Linked DNA regions of Homo sapiens: region 1 is linked to region 2. Evidence: promoter capture Hi-C in human tissues and cell types (Jung and others, 2019). All regions are on one chromosome and are shown on one strand. Each heading gives the region's core, a stretch centred on a gene start or on the middle of the fragment in contact. The rest is flanking DNA. Distances are from core to core; before and after follow the strand shown.

The links. Contacts are between HindIII fragments. The study calls those that stand out against the background at their distance.
Region 1: a contact is called between a fragment that was not itself captured here and the fragment with the promoter of PXMP4 in region 2, in 1 of the 25 tissues and cell types used here (lymphoblastoid cells).

The regions. Positions count from the first base shown.
Region 1 is chr20:33,885,171-33,890,078 of GRCh38, reverse strand. No RefSeq gene overlaps it. Among named protein-coding and RNA genes, the nearest start is that of CHMP4B, 76 kb to the right of the region's middle. The HindIII fragment of the contact is 3,948 bases long and covers 1,642-4,908 here.
Region 2 is chr20:33,718,112-33,723,743 of GRCh38, reverse strand. It overlaps PXMP4 (peroxisomal membrane protein 4), which reads left to right and starts at 3,434. Exons shown (of 4, transcript NM_007238.5): 1 at 3,434-3,649. The coding sequence starts at 3,537. RefSeq lists an enhancer at 3,838-3,887. The HindIII fragment of the contact is 6,661 bases long and covers 1-3,688 here.

The DNA of each region.
Region 1 (4,908 bases), core at 2,366-4,865, 170 kb before region 2:
TTGAAGATAGACTCTGACAAATTAAATATGTATACTGTAAACCTTAGGACAACCACTAAAGCCACCACAGTCACTCTCTCAACAGATGTTTTCTTGAGTATATATAATGTACCAGGATCCAGGCCTGGTCCTGGGAAAATGGGACCTTCATGGAGCTCACAGAGCATCCAGTGGGTCCATGGAGACAAACACCTGTTACAAAGTTGGTACAGAGGAGGCACCAATAATTTGGGGGTAGCTTATCCCATACTTTTAGCCCTTCCTCCTTTCTGGAGTCTTCAGGTTATGGAGGATGCGCTGAAGTGCAGATGCCAAGGGTTGTTAAGTGCAATGTGACCCAGGGCAGAGGACAAAAGGACATTGAACTCCTTTCCAAGATAACCACCAAGATGGTGGTGGGGGGCACCTCAGGACTTATTAAGGGGCAGCCAGACCAGCTCTTCTACCTCCCCTGGGCCCCCTTTAAATAAGCAGGTGGGGAGTTGGGGGAGGTCTTTGGAGTTAAGTGTCCCAGCCTGAGGAGAAGGCAGGTGGCACTAAGACTTTTCCCTCCCCTGGGAAGGGAGAATGACTCTCACTTCCTCAATTCAAGCCAAATGTAGGGGGTTCCAAGTGAAATCTCAGAAAGCAGAGCTGCATTTAGGAGGGTCCAACACCTCATTCTCCAGTGGAGGGTCTGCCTAGGCTCCCCTGCTCTCATGCCTCTCTTTTTGGGGAGAAGAACTATGAATGAACTATGAAAAAATATGGGCAGGCAGAGAGGACACGTGGAATAGCCCACACCCCAGCCCCAGCAACTGGGTAGCAAGGGAGTGGGAGGTTTCCAGGAGCCAAGAGGGCATCATGGGAGGGAGACATCTTGCTGCTCTGCCAGCAAAGAGGGCTGCTGACCAGGCAAGGGGGCCCAGAGGAAAACAGGCAGGGAAGGGGAGCTACGGGAGAAAAAGAGGGCACACAGAGTCAGCTGTGGGAATGCAAGGAAAAGAGGCCTCCAAGGATCCCCCAAGGACCTGCACCCCATGCCAGAGCCACCATCCGGCCCTAATGACACAGAAATCCCTGATGGCCAGTCAGGGATGGCCTGAGAGATGGCATTGGCCACAAGAGGTGAGGGAGTCCCCAACAGGAAGCTATTAGGGGAGAGACCTTTTCCCTGTGCCCTCCCTCCTCCATGTTAACCCAGAGGAGAGGTGGGGCTTTCAACTGGGCCAGACTGGCCGGGACTCCCTCATGCTCCAGTGTGATCGGCAGTCCGTACAACCCATGAAGGGACAGGGAAGACAGAATATGGGTGACGGCAGCGATCGGAGAATAAAACTACCCAGGGAGCTCAGTCCAGCCAGTAAACCAGAGACACGGAGAACCAGAGCATCCACTTCAAGACCATTTTTCTTGTTGGCTTTGAAATCTCTTTATTCCCCATCTAGCTCTTTTTAAAGACACAGCTTCCCCAGGGACAAGAGAGATTTGCTATTATGGGTCGAATTGTTCTCTCCAATCCCCTCAAAAAAAAAAAGATATGGACCTCAGAATGTGATCTGATTTGAGAATGGTGTCCTTGCAAGTTTAATTAGTAATTAAAGATGAGGCTATCCTTGAGTAGAATGGGCCCCTAATCTGATAGAACTGCGTTCTTCTAAGGAGACAGCTATGTGAAGTCAGGGAGAATGCCCTGTGATGAGGAAGGCAGAGACTGGAGTTACGCACCCGCACACCAAGGAACGCTGAGGATTGCTGGGAAACCACCAGGAGCTAGGCAGAGGCAAGGAAGGATCCCCCTAGGAAGAGGCAAGAAAGATTTCAGAGGGAGCAGGCCCGGCCCTCACCTTGATTTCAGACTTTTGGCCTCCAGCACTAACAGAATACACTCCTGTAGCTGTAAGCCTTCCAGTTTGTGATACCTTCTTACAGCAAAGATTGTTCAAGGTCTGGCCTGAAAGAGAGGCAGCTGGCACAGCCCTGGAGGAGGAGCAGGATTCGGTGGGAACATCCTGATACAATTAGAAATAAGGAATAAGGACTAACATTTATTGCTCAAGAAATGTGCCTACTACATGCCAGGCCCCATTCGAAGCCCTGTACATGTATTAACTCAAGCAAGTAGGTACCATTATAACTCTATTTTACAGATAAAGAAAGGAAGGCATAGACAGGCGATGTGATTTGCCCAAAATCACACAGCTAGTAATTATCAGGGCAAGAATTTGAACCCAGGCTGTCTGGCTCCCAAGCTGAGGCTCTTAATCACCATATCATCTGCTTCAACAAAATAAGTGAGCAATCAGTGTTATACCTAGGGCCTCCATAAAATACTGGGGGACACTTTGGGAGGCTAAGGCAGGCAGATCACTTGAGGTCAGGAGTTTGAGACCAGACTTGCCAACATGGTGAAACTCCGTCTCTAATGAAAATGCAAAAATTAGCCAGGCGTGGTGGCGGGGGACCTGTAATCCCAGCTGCTCAGGAGGCTGAGGCAGGAGAATCACTTGAACCTGGGAGGCAGAGGTTGTAGTGAGCCAAGATCAAGCCACTTCATTCCAGCCTGGGCAACAGAGTGAGACTCCATCTCAAAAAAAAATACTGAGGGAGTATTGAATTGGTCTCTCCAATCCCGTGTGTGTGTACATAAATATATATATATATATATATATATATATATATATATATATATATATATATATAGAGAGAGAGAGAGAGAGAGAGAGAGAGAGAGAGAGAGAGAGACAGGGACTTACTCTGTCACTCAGGCTGGAGTGCTATGGTACAATCACAGATCACTGCAAACCAGACCTCCTGGGCTCAAGAAATCATCCCACCTCGGCCTCCCAAAATGCTGGGATACACCAGCCTGTGTTCTCATCGGTAAAATGGGAGTGAATAACCCACCACTTCACAGGGCATAATGTACTTGTCATGTGGCTGGCACAGAAGGAACTCGCTGATTGTTCTGACCCCCAGTGGGGGGCTGGGAAAACTCATATTCTGCCCACTGCCTTCCCTGTTCTCTGTGCCTGGTAGAGCTTATTCTGATTTCCATTTGCAAACAGATTCTTCTTCCCCATCTTCTGACCCCTCTGGGAGGCCTAGCATCCAAGCACACTCCTGACAGGAGCGCCAGGCGTGGGTTTCTGAGGGCAGCTCAGAGGCACAGCCAGCTTGAAACAGGCACAGTCATGCCATCCGCTGAGCCTGCAGGCTGTGTACATGGCCCTTGCCATGAAGTGGACATGGTCAGAGGCAAAGATGCAGGGCAGGATGCATGTGTGTGAGCGCCCAGCTATCCACGTACATGTCTGAGCACACATGTGGGTGCATTCACACATGTGCTTGTGAGCGTTGGGGGGATCTTCATATGACACTCTCTGCTTCATGGAATTGGCATTTGCTCATTCATCCTGTGAGTATTTATTGAGTGCCTACTATGTACCAGGCTCTGTTGTAGGAGCTGGGGCTACACCATGAGCAAGACAATTAAATGACTTGCCCTTGTACGGGGAGGCAGACAGTAAACAAGTCATGTCAGACAGTGCATTGGAAGAAATGCGCTGGAAGATGTAGAGTCAGCTTAGGCTGCATAACAAAGTACCACAGACTGGGTAGCTTAAATCAGTGGTCCCAACCTTTTTGGCACCAGGGACGGGTTTCGTGGAAGACAGTTTTTCCATGGATAGTGGGGGGGATGGTTTGGGGATGATTCATATTATATTTATTGTACACTTTATTTATATTATTACCACACTGTAATATACAACGAAATAATTATATGACTCACCATAATGTAGAATCAGTGGGAGCCCTGAGCTTGTGTTCCTTTTTTTTTTTTTTTTTTGAGACGAAGTCTCTCTCTGTCGCCCAGGCTGGAGTGCAATGGCGCGATCTTGGCTCACTGCAACCTCCGCCTCCTGGGTTCAAGCAATTCTCCTGCCTCACCCTCCTGAGTAGCTGGAATTACAAGCGCTCACCACCGTGCCCTGCTAATTTTTGTATTTTTAGTAGAGACAGGGTTTCACCATGTTGGTCAGGCTGGCCTCAAACTCCTCACCTCGTGATCCACCTGCCTCGGCCTCCCAAAGTGCTGGGATTACAGGCGTGAGCCACCAGGTCCAGCCTGAGCTTGTTTTCCTGCGACTAGATGGTCCCATCTGAGAGTCACGGGAGACAGTGACAGATCATCAGGCATTAGATTCTCATAAGGAGCATGCAACCTAGATCCCCCGCATGAACAGTTCACAACAGGGTTCACACTCCTGTGAGCATCTAATGCTGCCGCTGATCTGGCAGGAGGCAGAGCTCAGGCAGCCATTCGTGTGATGGGGAGCGGCTGTATATACAGACGAAGCTTCTCTCCCTCACCAGCCACTCACCTCCTGCTGTGTGCCAGGTTCCTAATAGGCCATGGACCAGTACTGGTCCATGGCCAGGGGATTGAGGACCCCTGGCTCAAATAACAGAAATTTATTTTCCCACAGTTCCAGAGGCAGCAAGTCCAAGACCAAGGCACCCGCAGGGTTTCCTTGGAGGCCTCCCTCCTCGGCTTTCCTCCCCATGTCCTCACACGGCCTTCCCTCTGTGCACCCTCATCCCTTGTGTTGCTTCCCCCTTTTAAAAAGGATACCAGGCCGGGCACAGTGGCTCACGCCTGTTATCCCAGCACTTTGGGAGGCCGAGATGGGTGGATCACGAGCTCAGGAGTTCAAGACCAGCCTGGCCAACATGGTGAAACCCTGTCTCTACCAAAAATACAAAAAAAAAATTAGCCGGGAGTGGTGGCACGTGCCTGTTAGTCCCAGCTACTCGGGAGACTGAGGCAGGAAAATTGCTTGAACCCCAGAGGCAGAGGTTGCAGTGAACCAAGATCGCATCACTGCACTCCAGCCTGGGAGACAGAGCAAGACTCTGTCTCAAAAA
Region 2 (5,632 bases), core at 2,185-4,684:
GCTTTCTTGATCTATTATATCAGGCTCTACTCCCTGGGGTACAAAAAAACTCATCAATGATCACAACTTCCTAAGGAAGAGCTTTAAAAAAAAAATTCCTCTTTCCTTCTCCTTCAGCTGTTCTGCTTAGCACCAAGGCAGCCTTTTCTGTAGTTCCTAGGGGCTGGTGGTGTGGGTTGTGCAGTGGATTCATTTCACATTAGACTTGAGGGCAACACCCTTTGGGGCTCAGCTTAATGTGAGGAGATCTGCTATATGGCTCCCCACCTGGGGAGGCCCTAGATTTTCACTTGTGTCCCTCTTGCCCTGTGTGGTTGACAAGCTGAAACTTGCAGGTTTAATATTGGTAAACGCCCTCATGTCATAAGTAGCCTTGGTGCTCCAATATCCCAATCTTCCCGTTAAGCATCTGGTTACCAGCTTTCACTCCATAATTGGCCTGAGCATTCCTCATACTTTTTTTTTTTTTTTTAAGATGGACTTTCGGGCCGGGCGCGGTGGCTCACGCCTATAATCCCAGCACTTTGGGAGGCGGAGGCGGGCGGATCACGAGGTCAGGAGATCGAGACCATCCTGGCTAACATGATGAAACCCCATCTCTACTAAAAATACAAAAAATTAGCCCAGCGTGGTGGTGGGCACCTGTAGTCCCAGCTGCTCGGGAGGCTGAGGCAGGAGAATGGCGTGAACCCGGGAGGTGGAGCTTGCAGTGAGCCAAGATCGCACCACTGCATTCCAGCTTGGGCGACAGAGCGAGACTCCGTCTCAAAAAAAAAAAAAAAAAAGATGGACTTTCGCTCTGGTTGCCCAGGCTGGAGTGCAGCGGCGCGATCTCAGCTTACTGCAACCTCTGCCTCCCGGGTTCAAGCGATTCTCCTGCTTCAGCCTCCTGAGTAGCTGGGATTACAGGCACGTGCCACCACGCCCGGCTAATTTTGTATTTTTAGTAGAGACAGGATTTCTCTGTGTTGGTCAGGCTCGTCTCGAACTCCGACCCCAGGTGACCCACCCACCTCACCCTCCCAAAGTGCTGGGATTAAAGGCGTGAGCCACCGTGCCCGGCCACATTCCTCATACTTTTAAGCACTTCAGTTTGACACAGGGTCTCAGTCACCCAGGCTGGAGTCCAGTGGCGTGATCACCGCTCACCGCAGTGTTGACCTCTCCAGGCTCAGGTGATCCTCCCGCACCTGTAGTTGGGACTACAGGTGTGTGCCACCAGGCCTGGCTAATTTTTGTATTTTTAGTAGAGATGGGTTTTCGCCATGTTGCCCAGGCTGGTCTTGAACTCCTGGGCTCAAGAGATCCACCCACCTTGGCTTCCCAAAGTGCCGGGATTACAGGCGTGAGCTACCTACCGCACCTGGCAGAGCTTCAGTGTTTTTTTGTTTTTGTTTTTGTTTTTTAATTTTTTAGAGACGGGGTTTCACCATGTTGGTCAGGGGTGGTCTCGAACTCCTGGCTTCAAGTGATCCGCCCGCCTCGGCTTCCCAAAGTGCTGGGATTACAGGCATGAGCCACTGTGCCCAGCCAAGGAACTTCAGTGTTTTTAAGAGGATATTTTAATATATTATCTAACATAGTCATTATCTTCAGAGGAAGGATGAACTGAATAAAGTAGCCTACCATCACAAAAGAAAAATCCCGGACAACCCAGTTTCAGTGACAAAATAGGCCCAGCACAACTCCCTCCTTCATTGACCTCTGAAATTGTCCCCTGACACTGAGCAAATAACATCACTGGTAAATACCATATGGCCCAAGTACCAGGGGACACCCTCACAAGTCACAGCCACCACTCAGTGTGTAGCTGTTATTCAGTGACAACTCCACATAGTGACATCATATGTTAATGTCACCCATCAATGCTCTCAGAGATGACAACCCAAAACTATGTGTTGCTTAAACAAGCAAGTGTTGAGTACCCACCATGTGCCTAGTGTTGGGGTTACAGCAGAAAACAAGACAAATAAGATTTCTTCCTTCATAGAATTTACAGTTTGATAAGGGCAATGGACAATGAACACATAGTAAACAAGTCTAAAGTGTCAAAAGTTCTATAAAAAAAAAAAACACATAAGAACCAGGGTGGCCGGGCACGATGGCTCACATTTGTAATTCCAGCACTTTGGGAGGCCGAGGCGGGCGGATCACAAGGTCGGGAGTTTGGACTAGCCTGGCCAATATGGTGAAACCCCGTCTTTACTAAAAATACAAAAATTAGCCGGGCGTGGTGGCATGCACCTGTAGTCCTAGCTCCTCAGGAGGCTGAGGCAGAAGAATCCCTTGAACCTGGGAGGCAGAAGTTGAAGTGAGCTGAGATCACACTACTGCGCTCCAGCCTGGGTGATAGATCCGAGACTCAGTCTAAAAAAAAAAAAAAAAAAAAAAGAGCCAGGGTAATGAGTCAGAGTGGACAGTGCTACTTCAAATTGGATGTCTCAGAAAGTCTCTCTGATGAAGTGGCATTTGAGCTGAAACCTGAAGGATGAGAAGAAGCCCATCATGGGAAGAGCCCAGGATGGCGAATATCAAGCAGGGAACCAGCAAGTGCAAAGGCCCTGAGGTAGAAGGGTTCTTGGCCCAAGGAACAGAAAGGAGGCTGTTTGGCTGGGAAGCAGTGAGGTGGCAAGTGCTGGAACGTGGGGTCAGAGGGAGAGGCACGGACCAGATCACAGGAGGTCTTCTCTCTTGGGCCTTGGGGAGGAGTTTGGATTCTAAGAATAAGTGGACGCCGGCTGGGTTCACGCCTGTAATCCCAGCACTTTGGAAGGCCGAGGCAGGTGGATCACCTGAGGTCAGGAGAGCAGCCTGGCCAACATGGTGAAACCCCGTCTCTACTAAAAATACAAAAAAATTTGCCAGGCATGGTGGTGGGTGCCTGTAGTCCCAGCTACTCAGGAGGCTGAGGCAGGAGAACTGCTTGAACCCTGGGGGGTGGAGGTTGCAGTGAGCCGAGATCGCGCCACTGCACTCCAGCCTGGGTGACAGAGCGAGGCTGCATCTCAAAACATACATACGTACATGGAAGCCATTGAGGGGCCATGTGACTGACACTCTGGGAAGATCGCTATGGTAAAGGATATCCCAGTCAGAACTATCTCGCATAAAGATGGGGCCCTGCTCCTCCCTGTATCATCACCTGTCGCCCATCCCATCTCTAAGCAGGGCCACTCCTCATTCAGGAGCCCTCCTTCCAAGTACACGCCTCCTTCCAAACCCACTCGTGAACCCAACATGGCCCAAGGGAAAGTGCCTTCTGATTGGACAAATCGTGTGTGACCTTGGGCGGAGCCCACTGTGATTGGCTACAAGCTTTCCTTTCTCTTCCAGTCAGACAACTATTTCGATGAGTGCTATTGTCCCATGAGACAAGTACGCTCTCTGATTGGTCTTCCATGCATGAGTGACGCAGAAACAGCCTATAGACGCCACGAGTCGGCGGCGCTACCGAGGGGCTGTGGGCGCGCAGCTGGAACCTCCGGCTGTCAGTGCGCTTACAGTTCCTAACCCCGACCCTGCGCGCAGCCCGCACTATGGCAGCCCCGCCGCAGCTAAGGGCTCTGCTCGTAGTCGTCAACGCACTGCTGCGCAAGCGCCGCTACCACGCTGCGTTGGCCGTGCTTAAGGGCTTCCGGAACGGGGCTGTGTGAGTGGGGCCGTCGGGCCGGGCTGGGGCTGAGGGATGTCCTGCCTGGGGTCAGAGGCGCGAGTTCGAAGTCCGATGCCGCGGTGCTGTTTGCCCTGGAGCAGTCCTCGTGTGTCTCTAAGTCTCGGAGGTCACCATCTGTGCAATGGGAGCTGGATTTTGGCTTGCGCGCCTTCCCAGCTCTGAACTGGGGCTCCCACTGCACATTTTCTGGGTCTTCCAACCTTTGCAGCCTGGCCCTCTTGCTTTGACTCCTCCCATGCCAGCTTCTGTATCCCCTCATTTGGGTTCAGTTCACCTCACCTCTCTGTGTGCCTTTGGGCCTCAACGGCCCCATCTGCACAATGGGGAACTGGACTCTGGCCTCTAGCTGGCAGGCGGATGCCTCCTGTCTATTCTGTCCCCATGAAGCTTGCCCATGGGCTTGCATCCTGCTTCTCACTTCTCACCTGTAGGACTCCAGCGCTAAGTCCCGTTCGGCTCAGGGGGCTCCTGGGACGTGACAATGAATGTAAAAGAAGCTGCAACTATCCTGGCATCTTACCTGCAAGAGAGGTCTTGGGGTCATTGCCCTGGCTGGTGCCTAGAGGGGAGCTCAGTCTCCTTTAAACCTAGTGCATAACAGCCACCATTTATTGAGGGCCTACAGTGCCAGAACCGGGGACAAAGCAGAGAACAAACCAGAGAAAGTGGTTTGTGTCCCCCAGAATTGGCATCCTAGTGGCAACGTGGGATGGTGGGAAGGATGTGGATGCCTTGGCTTGAACCCTGGCCCCACCTACCCGTGTGATCTGGAGGAAGTCATTTAGCCTCTCTAAGCCTCAATATCTGTAAAATGGGCATGGTACTAGTACTTATACTATCAGGATTGAGTCAATATGTGTGAAATGCTTAGCACAGGCTGGCCACGGTGGCTCACACCTGTAATCCTAGCACTTTGGGAGGCCGAGGCAGGCGGATTATCTGAGGTCAGGAGTTCGAGACTAGCCTGGCCAACATGGCAAAACCCCGTTTCTACCAAAAATACAAAAATTAGCCGGGTGTAGTGTCACATGCCTGTAGTCCCGGCTACATGGGAGGCTGAGGCAGGAGAACCGCTTGAACCCAGGAGGTGGAGGTTGCAGTGAGCTGAGATTGTGCCACTGCACTCCAGCCTGGGTGACAGAGTGAAACTCCATCTCAAAAGGAAAAAAAAGAAAGTTTCATGAGGCCATAACTTTATCTATTTTGTTCCTTGGTGTATTACTAGCACCTGGTATTTAGTAGTTTCTGAAATATTTATTGAATGAATGAATAAGTGTGCAAGATCAGAATTGCCATTGTCCCCATTTTCCAGATGAAAAGGCTGTAGCTCAGAGGTAGACCCATTGCTCGTGGCCACAGCACTTGGTCACGGTTGGAGCCGGGATTCAAACCCAAGGATGCCTGGCACCAGTGCCAGGCTCTTGGCTCCCATGGACACTCAAGAGTCAGGTAGAACTGGTTCCCACTGGGTCTGGCCAAGGGCATATCCTTGATGTGCCCTGAGATAACATCAGTAACCCTTTTGCCAAGTTTTTTTTTTTTTTTTTTTTTTTTTTTTTTGAGATGGAGTGTCGCTCTGTTGCCCAGGCTGGAGTGCAGTGGCGCAATCTCGGCTCACTGCAAGCTCCGTCTCCCAGGTTCACACCATTCTCCTGCCTCAGCCTCCTGAGTAGCTGGGACTACAGGCACCCACCACCACGCCCGGCTAATTTTTTTGTATTTTTAGTAGAGACAGGGTTTCACCGTGTTAGCCAGGATGGGCTCGATCTCCTGACCTCGTGATCGGCCTGTCTCGGCCTCCCATTGTGCTGGGATTACAGGCGTGAGCCACCACACCCAGCCTTGGACACAGGTTTGATTCCAGTCTTTTGTTTTTTCAAACAAGCCTGCAGTGAACATTCATGTATATTTGGGGAGACAATAGTATGTGGCTCATGACCATTGTCTCAAGGAGGCTGT